Linked DNA regions of Homo sapiens: regions 2 and 3 are each linked to region 1. The links are contacts of gene promoters, found by promoter capture Hi-C in human tissues and cell types (Jung and others, 2019). All regions are on one chromosome and are shown on one strand. The core of a region is centred on a gene start or on the middle of the fragment in contact, and the rest is flanking DNA. Distances in the headings are between cores, read along the strand shown. Region 1 holds the start of FOXC1 (forkhead box C1). Region 2 overlaps GMDS (GDP-mannose 4,6-dehydratase). Region 3 overlaps GMDS (GDP-mannose 4,6-dehydratase).

What was found. The method cuts DNA at HindIII sites, captures the fragments that hold promoters and counts their contacts. A contact is called where the count stands out against the background at its distance.
Region 2: a contact is called between a fragment that was not itself captured here and the fragment with the promoter of FOXC1 in region 1, in 1 of the 25 tissues and cell types used here (pancreas).
Region 3: a fragment that was not itself captured here is called in contact with the fragment with the promoter of FOXC1 in region 1 in 1 of the 25 tissues and cell types used here (IMR-90 fibroblasts).

Annotation. Positions count from the first base shown.
Region 1 is chr6:1,608,349-1,611,665 of GRCh38, forward strand. FOXC1 (forkhead box C1) reads left to right here and starts at 1,567. Exons shown (of 1, transcript NM_001453.3): 1 at 1,567-3,317. The coding sequence starts at 2,098. RefSeq lists a silencer at 1,375-1,994 and an enhancer at 2,325-2,424. The HindIII fragment of the contact is 11,200 bases long and covers 1-3,317 here.
Region 2 is chr6:1,810,453-1,813,769 of GRCh38, forward strand. The region is part of intron 7 of GMDS (GDP-mannose 4,6-dehydratase); the gene reads right to left. Among named protein-coding and RNA genes, the nearest start is that of FOXC1, 200 kb to the left of the region's middle. The HindIII fragment of the contact is 9,150 bases long and covers 1-3,317 here.
Region 3 is chr6:1,792,881-1,796,197 of GRCh38, forward strand. All of the region lies in intron 7 of GMDS (GDP-mannose 4,6-dehydratase), which reads right to left. Among named protein-coding and RNA genes, the nearest start is that of FOXC1, 180 kb to the left of the region's middle. The HindIII fragment of the contact is 3,808 bases long and covers 1-3,317 here.

The DNA.
Region 1 (3,317 bases), core at 317-2,816:
CATGTAACAGCCGAAGCTGCAATTTGAATTTTCCTGCCAACGTGAGGAAGCCGGGATTCGAACCGGGGAGACAAAAGGGGTCCCGAACATGTCCTTGGATTTAATAGATGGTCGGAAATCAGGGGCAGCGGAGCTGTTAAATGCGTCACGCACGCTTCTTCGCAGTCTCCTGAGCTCGCCACTTCCCCCAGCTTCTAGTGAACGACTTGGGATTCAGCCTCCGGGAGGGTCTCTCCTCAAGTCGCTAAAATGCAGAATCGCCGTGCCGGGGGAGGGAGGCCTGGCTCTTTCCCGCTCCTTCGTTTCTTTCCCTCATTTCTCTTCTTCCTGTCCCATTCCAACCACCCAGCGACGGCGAATCTCAGGCGTGTGCACAACGAGCGGGGGCCCTTCCGTGCGTGTCCCCCCAGAATCCTTGAACCGCCCTCTAGGTGCGACCCTGGACGTTCCCCCAGACACACCCGTTGTCTCTGCGAGCCGGCAGCCCCGCGCATGTGGAGATGGAGACTGGCCTGGGGAAGCGTTAAGCTCTTAGACATATTTATTTGCTTCTTGTCATCACACCTGCTAATGTCACCGAGCCCGCAGCCTGACCCCTCATCTGAGCCGAAACGGGCCTGACGGGATCAGAGGGGGCGGCGGCGCGGCGAGCCGGTGGGACCCTCGCGGGCGGGCAGGGGAGCGCGGGGCAGCAGCCGGGCTCCGGCAGCCCTCGCCGCCCGCACCCTCAGGCCGCCAAGGGCCGGCCCCCCGGGGAGGGGGGCGAGAAGCAGGGCGGCCCGCAGCGGGGCGGGCTCATCCTTCGCGGGTGAACGGCCGTCGGAAACTCCCAGCAGGGCCCCGCACCCCTTGCCTTCATTTCGGCTGGGGAGGGGTCATGGAGGGGGGCCAGATGGGCGACGAACCTTCTTCCCCACCGCGAGCAGGGCCTGGCTGTGACCGAGCCCTCAAAATCATGTCCTTTGTAGCCGAGTTCAGGACAGGAGAACCTCCAAGTGGAGAAAAGCCGGAGACGTCAGTGACCCGAGTGAGACTGGCGTTGGAGAAGGGAGGGAAGGGGCTGCGGGAGGGGAGAGGCGGCGGGGAGGAGAGGCTGGGGCAACCCCAGCGCTGGCGTCGGCGGGGCTGGCGAAGGAATGAGAGCGAGCCAGCACGAGGCGGGGCGGAGACGCCAGGGCCACTCGGGAGCCGTGGGCGAAGGAAGGGTCTGCACGGGGTCCCGGGAGGACCCAGGAAGTCTGCGCGAACGGCGGGCGTGGGTCCGGAGGGCCCGGGGTGGGAGGTCTGCCGGGCGCCGGCGGCAGGCAGGTGGACTGCGGGGGGCGAACCGACGGCGGGCCGGGCGCCGGCGCGGGCGCAGGGCCGGGGCCCGGGCCAGGGCGGCCGGCGCGCGTGTGGTCAGCCCCGCGGTCCTCCGGCCTCCGGGAGCGGGCCGGCAGGGCTCGGCCTCCGGCTCATTCGGAGGCGGTTCTCACCTCCCATTGGCTGCCGCCGCTGGCGGGGCGGGGCTCCGCTGCCCGGAAAAAAGTGTAACTGCGTAAAAAAGTCCTCGCCTGGGTGACGGATGCTCAAAAGTTCAGAAGTTTTCCCAATGCTTCCTTAAGCGGCTGGCGCGCGAGAGACCGAGAAAAGGTGACGCGGGGCCCGGGCAGGCGGCCGGCGCGCGGCCCCCCCCCCCCCCGCCCTGGTTATTTGGCCGCCTTCGCCGGCAGCTCAGGGCAGAGTCTCCTGGAAGGCGCAGGCAGTGTGGCGAGAAGGGCGCCTGCTTGTTCTTTCTTTTTGTCTGCTTTCCCCCGTTTGCGCCTGGAAGCTGCGCCGCGAGTTCCTGCAAGGCGGTCTGCCGCGGCCGGGCCCGGCCTTCTCCCCTCGCAGCGACCCCGCCTCGCGGCCGCGCGGGCCCCGAGGTAGCCCGAGGCGCCGGAGGAGCCAGCCCCAGCGAGCGCCGGGAGAGGCGGCAGCGCAGCCGGACGCACAGCGCAGCGGGCCGGCACCAGCTCGGCCGGGCCCGGACTCGGACTCGGCGGCCGGCGCGGCGCGGCCCGGCCCGAGCGAGGGTGGGGGGCGGCGGGCGGCGCGGGGCGGCGGCGAGCGGGGGCCATGCAGGCGCGCTACTCCGTGTCCAGCCCCAACTCCCTGGGAGTGGTGCCCTACCTCGGCGGCGAGCAGAGCTACTACCGCGCGGCGGCCGCGGCGGCCGGGGGCGGCTACACCGCCATGCCGGCCCCCATGAGCGTGTACTCGCACCCTGCGCACGCCGAGCAGTACCCGGGCGGCATGGCCCGCGCCTACGGGCCCTACACGCCGCAGCCGCAGCCCAAGGACATGGTGAAGCCGCCCTATAGCTACATCGCGCTCATCACCATGGCCATCCAGAACGCCCCGGACAAGAAGATCACCCTGAACGGCATCTACCAGTTCATCATGGACCGCTTCCCCTTCTACCGGGACAACAAGCAGGGCTGGCAGAACAGCATCCGCCACAACCTCTCGCTCAACGAGTGCTTCGTCAAGGTGCCGCGCGACGACAAGAAGCCGGGCAAGGGCAGCTACTGGACGCTGGACCCGGACTCCTACAACATGTTCGAGAACGGCAGCTTCCTGCGGCGGCGGCGGCGCTTCAAGAAGAAGGACGCGGTGAAGGACAAGGAGGAGAAGGACAGGCTGCACCTCAAGGAGCCGCCCCCGCCCGGCCGCCAGCCCCCGCCCGCGCCGCCGGAGCAGGCCGACGGCAACGCGCCCGGTCCGCAGCCGCCGCCCGTGCGCATCCAGGACATCAAGACCGAGAACGGTACGTGCCCCTCGCCGCCCCAGCCCCTGTCCCCGGCCGCCGCCCTGGGCAGCGGCAGCGCCGCCGCGGTGCCCAAGATCGAGAGCCCCGACAGCAGCAGCAGCAGCCTGTCCAGCGGGAGCAGCCCCCCGGGCAGCCTGCCGTCGGCGCGGCCGCTCAGCCTGGACGGTGCGGATTCCGCGCCGCCGCCGCCCGCGCCCTCCGCCCCGCCGCCGCACCATAGCCAGGGCTTCAGCGTGGACAACATCATGACGTCGCTGCGGGGGTCGCCGCAGAGCGCGGCCGCGGAGCTCAGCTCCGGCCTTCTGGCCTCGGCGGCCGCGTCCTCGCGCGCGGGGATCGCACCCCCGCTGGCGCTCGGCGCCTACTCGCCCGGCCAGAGCTCCCTCTACAGCTCCCCCTGCAGCCAGACCTCCAGCGCGGGCAGCTCGGGCGGCGGCGGCGGCGGCGCGGGGGCCGCGGGGGGCGCGGGCGGCGCCGGGACCTACCACTGCAACCTGCAAGCCATGAGCCTGTACGCGGCCGGCGA
Region 2 (3,317 bases), core at 376-2,875, 200 kb after region 1:
TTGTATTTTTAGTAGAGACAGGGTTTCACTGTGTTGGCCAGGCTGGTCTCGAACTCTTGACCTCAGGTGATCCACCTGCCTCGGCCTCCCAGAGTGCTAGGGTTACAGGCGTGAGCCACCACACCTGGCTGAAAGGAGCAGTTTTATGGCAGGGGGAGCAGGGTATGTGAAAGAGGCGTGAAGAGCCTGATCTGCCAGGGAACAGACAGGGAGGAGGGGAAGAGGGAAGGTTGGCAGGGGTCAAAATTACTAAGGGTTTCCTCAGCCAAAGGAGATGACTGGACATAACCTTGCAGACAAGCAGGCCAATGGCGAGATCAGATTGGCATTTAGAACGATTATTCCTTTATCACTGTGGCTAATTTCATTAGAACACCATTTAATGATCAAAGTTAGGCATTTTGGCTTTTAAACAGAACAATAATGGAAACTAAAAACATACCTTTGTGGCAATTATGTATCCTTGTGGCATTTTCTGTGGAAACGGGAAGTATCTCACAATGATACTTAGGCATGAGCTTGTCTTTTCTCCTAGTTTTTTTTTTCCCTCTCCCAGTATTGCTGTAAAGTGGTTTGTAATTGTTTTAGGAAGATTCTGACAACATGAAACAGAATCTTGATGAGAGCTGGTCCTGTGTTTAGAGGAAAGACTTTTACAGTCTTCTTTTGGTTTTCTGATTACTTCACTGACCACAAGACAATGCTGTGCTGAGTAAACGCTCATATATTTCTGAAGTTGAAATGATAAAATAATTATTTAAGATCTTTCACCCTTGTCAAAAAGAAATATGTCCTTTTCCATAAAAGTCATCTAAGAACATACTCTTGCGATCTTTTCTAATATTCAGTATGATGCCATGAAGTTTGAACTGCCATGAATAGACATTTGGACAAACAAGTCATGGAAGCCTTATCAGCTGAGTTTTATTAATGTCTAGTTATAATTCTCCAGTATTTTTCACAGAGTAGGTGATTAAAAACACCTTCAATAAATGAAATAAATGAGTACTGCTTTTAACTGGAGTAGATTATTTCATTTTATTGTATCTTTAAGACACAAAATCTTATTTGTACAATAATTAAAATATTTAGACTAGTCAAGCTTTTTTTTTTTTTTTTTTCAACTGAAGCCCTTCACAATGCTTTCTGGAGACTTACGGGAAAGAGGTGTCTTGCTTCCTGTTACAACAAGCATTTGAAACATCTACAGGCACAACCTTCGTGCCTCACTGAAAGATGCAAATACTGCTCATCCTCCACTGCCACTGCACACAGTAGGCACTCCACGTTTAATGACAGTGATGTACTGGTTTTCTATTCCTATTTTGCTATCTGCAATTCTTTGAGTAAGTTTGATGGTCCATTACAGTACAATGTCCACAGAATTCTCTTGGGCTATCTAACACAAATCCACTAGAAATTAAGTACCTAATTTTAAAAAGCTCTGTTTTCATATTAGAATCAAAAGCTCTGATATTCATTTAACCAATGTTCATTGTACACCTACTATGTTCCAGGTACACTGCTGGAAATATACAAATGATACCTTTCTACTGTCCGAGGAATCATAGTCAAGTAGGGGAAGAGATCTACAATTAAGATCTAATAAATGCTAAATACAGATCTGCACTAGTGCTATAGAAGTACCGCAGAGAGAGGAATTCGTTTTGAATGGTGTAAAAGGTAGATTGGCGCAAAACTCACAGAGGCAACATTTTAGAGGAGGACCTTATAGAACGAGGAGGAGCTCACAAGCCAGGGAGAGGCTGTGTAGTCCAGGCAGAGTAAACAGGACCAGCAAAGTACACAGGACTCCGAGCACAGAGCAAGTTAAAGAAAGGCCCAGGACCCTGGTGACTGATGTGAAGAGAGCGTGAGAAGGGGGATTTCAGTCCATAAACTAGGACCAGAGGATTACCTACTGGGGCCTCCACAGTTTCGCTAACAGTAAATTTAGAAAAGTAGAGCAAACCAGAGGTTCCCAGTGTTGGCAGCTGTAGAATCTTCTAGGAAACTCAGGAGGAGGATCTGAGGGGAAAAAAAGAAGAAAGGGCAGAGGAAAGAAAGGCAAGGGGGAGAGGGAGAGGAGGAAGAGGAAGAGAAGGGGCAGCAAAGGGGACACAGAGGAGAAGCCACAAAAGGAAGGGAGCAGGTCAGAGACACCAGAACAGGAGGAGGACAACTCGATTCCAGTTCCCAAACCCCCCACCGACTGATTCAGGATCTGCAAACCAGGGGCTGAGGAAGCTGCAGTTATTATGCAACCAGGTTTGAGATTTGTTAGTGTAAATTCTCAGTCTCATTGAAGAGGAGGTAGATGGTTTTTTCATCTGTTTTTGAAAAGAAAACAAAAGGCTCAGTTTGATGTAGATTTCTTAGACTTCAGTACAAAAAGAATGTATACTGGGAACAGAAATTTATTTTTGTTAGTGCTTTTATTGCTTTATCTTTTTTATTATTCTCTAGGTGCTTCTAAAATAAGTTATTAAGCCAAGCATGGTGGCTCATGCCTGTAATCCCAGAACTTCGGGAGACCAAGGCAGGAGGACTGCTTGAGGCGGTCGAGACCAGCTGGGCTAACACAGCAAAACCCCATCTCTACCAAAAAAATTTTTTTTAATTAGCTGGGTCTGGTGGTGTATGAGCACAGTCCCAGCTACTCAGGAGGCTGAGGCGGGAAGATGACTTGAGCCTAGGAGTTCAAGGCTACAGGAAGCTGTGAATGTGCCGCCGCACTGAAGCCTGTGTGACAGAGCAAGACTCTGTCTCTTAAAAAAAAAAAAAAAAAAAAAAAAACCTTAATTAAAAAAATTGAAATAAAATTAGATATTAAGAATCAATATGTTTTCAAGAATCTTGGGAAAGAATAAGAATTATTTTTTTCTAAGCTAATCACTTTAAAGCGTTCGTTAGATGAAGGTTCAGAAGAGAAACCCAGCGCTCAATGCCTAAGTGAGGTTATTTTAGAAACTGCTACTCCTGAGCCATTCCTATCTTCACCTGACTTGAGAAAAAGAAATAACTTTTTGAGGCTTCTTTTATCATTTGAAAACTTTACATGATGTCCCAGGAGACAGAAAGAATCATAAAATTCCTAAAGTGATGCCTTGAGAGTAATTAGTTCTAGATAGCTAATAATGGATGGTTGAGAAAACAGAGAGAGCTCCAGAGGTTTAAATAAGAGCATCTTTCCAAAGATTACAGCATCCCCATGCGACACGTAAGGTCTTCAAGTAAGAGGGTAGGAGCGATCCACTGACTTTTCCTCTAGTAATAAAGCCTTTACTGATTTGTGCTCATGTATTATTTTTTTTAAT
Region 3 (3,317 bases), core at 211-2,710, 180 kb after region 1:
GGTCTTTGTTCATCCACTGAGCTGGACAATTACACAGCCTTTACAATCTCAAGAATTACATTCTGCTCTGGGAAATTTTCTTCACATATTCATATGATAATTTCCTTATATTTTCCATCTCTCACTATGAAATTCTTATTAGACGTTTTCACTCTTCAGTATATCCTCTAATCCCCATGTATCTCATCTTCACCCCTTTCTTGATGCCCTTTCCCTATCTACACTCACTGCAATAGTGATCTCTTCTAGTTTCAACAAACGACTTCTTCAGGTTTCCTCCAGGGGCACTGTGGGGCAGTTTCCTGGGTCATGATACATTCCCCAATGTCCTGTGTTCTATGATAGTCTCAGAACCCATGATAAAATGACTATGCATTTGTGAGGTACTTCTCTACTCCAGGACGGCTTTAGGAGCCTATGAATCTGTTCTAGGGATAGAGATAGAGGTTAACATGAGCTTAAGAGTTCCAGCTCACTTCAGAACAGTTTACAAGAAATTCAGATAAACTTATAAATTCCATTTCCCCTTAAAGTAGGCCTGAACCAGGGTGGGAAACCTTAAATGACCTCTTTCAAGAAGTTCATGAACAAAAATCTGACTTATGATCTTTAAGATGTCCATGGACTTGATGAGTCTGCTTTTATGTCAGCGAATGTCATCAACTCCAGGACACCTGGATGTTTCTGAGCCACCGCAGGTGGAGACTGGAGTACCTTGTGTACAGAGGTGATACATATAGTTTATTGTGAAGGCAGCTCATCTTCCTACTTTAAAATGCCAAAGGAAGTCAAAAGCCACGTAGAGGAAAATTACTACCCTTTTCCTTCATTCTCTGCAATTTTATGGTCACCTGGAATTCTGGGTTTCTCATTTTGCTTAGTATTCCTGGAGAAACACAAATTCCCTGCCAGTGTATCTCACATCTCAGTGCTTCTCCCAAATGTCTAAGATTTTAAAAAAACAGAAAGTTTGACCAGCTTATTGCCAAAAATGAAGAAATGTTTGTACTCAGTTTAAAATATAATGTGCTTAGGTCTATAGGACAGAGTCGCCAATAATGGTAGAAGTGGAATGATGGAAAGGGCTTTACACACTTACGTGGGAATAACTTCATTTTAAGTGAACAGGGGATGAAGACGGATACTTCTAAACAAAGATTGGGTCAGTGAATGATTATCCCAGGAGGATGAGAAAAAAGAAACAACAAAATATAATGTTTGGATCTATCTGAGGAGTTTATCCTAACATTTTGAAATGAATTTACTGGCCACTTTTCCAATGCCCTATCAACACCTAGAGGGTTCTTTCTCCTTTTATGATAAACCCATGAAGATTTCCAGTTAAATAATTGCATTCCAAATCCCATTTACGTATGTCTACTCTAATCCAAAGATTTATTAATCTAAGATATTCTCTAAAATAACTTCACTGAGGCAAAAAAAAAAATACTTGGAAAATTGCAGCACCATATATAAACCACTGAGGTGGTACAAAACATTTAAATAAACAAAGACACATGTATATCAGCAAAAATCACAGGGAAAGGAAACTACGGCATTATATAGAAAGCTGGGTGTTTGGTTGGTGGTCGAAACCATGGAATGTTCTATGTCTAGGGACAGAATCTGAGGTCAAATCTGGTACTGAGAAGCTGCAGAAAATGTACTAGCCTTAGAGAATTTGGCCTCAGTTTGACTTCATAACACAGTAGGGTTAACACTGTTGGGTTGAAGGAATGATTAAATATCATTTTCAAAACTTCCTCTCAACTCTGGATATTAACAATGGTACCCAAATCATTTTATAGATTGATTGAGAGCTATATACATTTCCTGACAAGACCTTTATATGTGTACTATTCGGGACACGTCATTCTTATCCCAAATATATAAAAATCATATGGAACCTCTGAAAAGGAGACAGATGGTCCATTCTAGATTAAATGTATTTAAAAGTTAATTTACAGGGGTGAGCCACTGCACCTGGACGATGATATCCTAAGTAATCTAAAATGAGGCTGGGGTCAAGGTGCGGTGGCTCACCCCTGTAATCCCAGCACTTTGGGAGGCTGAGGTGGGGTGGGTGATTACTTGAGCCCAGGAGTTTGAGACCAGCCTGGGAAACATAGCGAAGCCCCATCTCTACAAAACAAAAACAAAAACACAAAAATTAGCCAGGCATGGTGGCGCATGCCTGTAGTCCCAGCTACTCTGGAGGCTGAGGTGGGAGGATCACTTGAGTCCGGGAGGCAGAGGTTACAGTGAGCTGAGACAGCACTACTGCACTCTTGCCAAGGTGACACAGTCAGACTCCGTCTCAAAAATAATAACAATCATCATCATCATCAAAAATGAATGTATTTTCATACATAGACTTCTACATGCTACCAAAGACTCTGAGGTACAGATTTTTTGTTTTTTAAGGAATTCCCAGTTATATCTAAAACCCACAAGGCATCAAAATTACACTAATGCATACAACACTAGTCTAATGGCTAAAATGACTGTGTGGAGTCTACTGATCTTCCTTCTGAATATTCATCCCTTTTCCCATATATCTGTATATATACATACAGATATATGATGCATATATGCATATATTTCTCTTAAATCATTTATTAGGAAGAGTATCTATGCGTGCCTCATAAACTGTATTTCCTTATTGGGGAAAAATTAAAAGGTGAATGAAACATTACAGATTTTAAAATGATAATCAAACAATGAGAAATGGGCAAATCAGGAGGAAATATGCTTTGAATGCAAATAAAATTTAAAGATTAGTTCAAAACAGAAAGTTCACATGAAATGCTTCAATGGTATAATAAGCTTTGCAATTTAAAGAACTTGTAAATAAATGTTCTTATTCTGAAAGCAGTTCATTCACATTAACAGTCATCCACATTTCAGTGTACTCAATTTAAACATCTCCTTAATTTTAAAATATTCAAGAAACATTTGCAACAGGACCCTAAATAAGCACTCAGATGAATGCTAATAATTTATCCGAAATATATAATCTGCATAGTCACAGTGACCCAATAAACAGTGAGGCCAGAGATGGGGGGAAGGCGGGGACTGGCCAGTTCTCTTCTCTCTACAAACTCCACCAAATTAGCAGGATGCCTGTATCGGAAGAGAAAGTGGTAACCAGAGGTGTGGCTTCAGCGGAAAGAGTTCTTCTCCCCATGTAAGCACAGGGTTGTGTATGCTTCTCTATTCAACAACCCCACAGGACCTGGAGGGCTCTGCAGCTGTGAACTGTGGACAGGGCTCTGGGGAAGAGATCCTGGAATGCTGGCTCTGGAAGTCCACCCAGC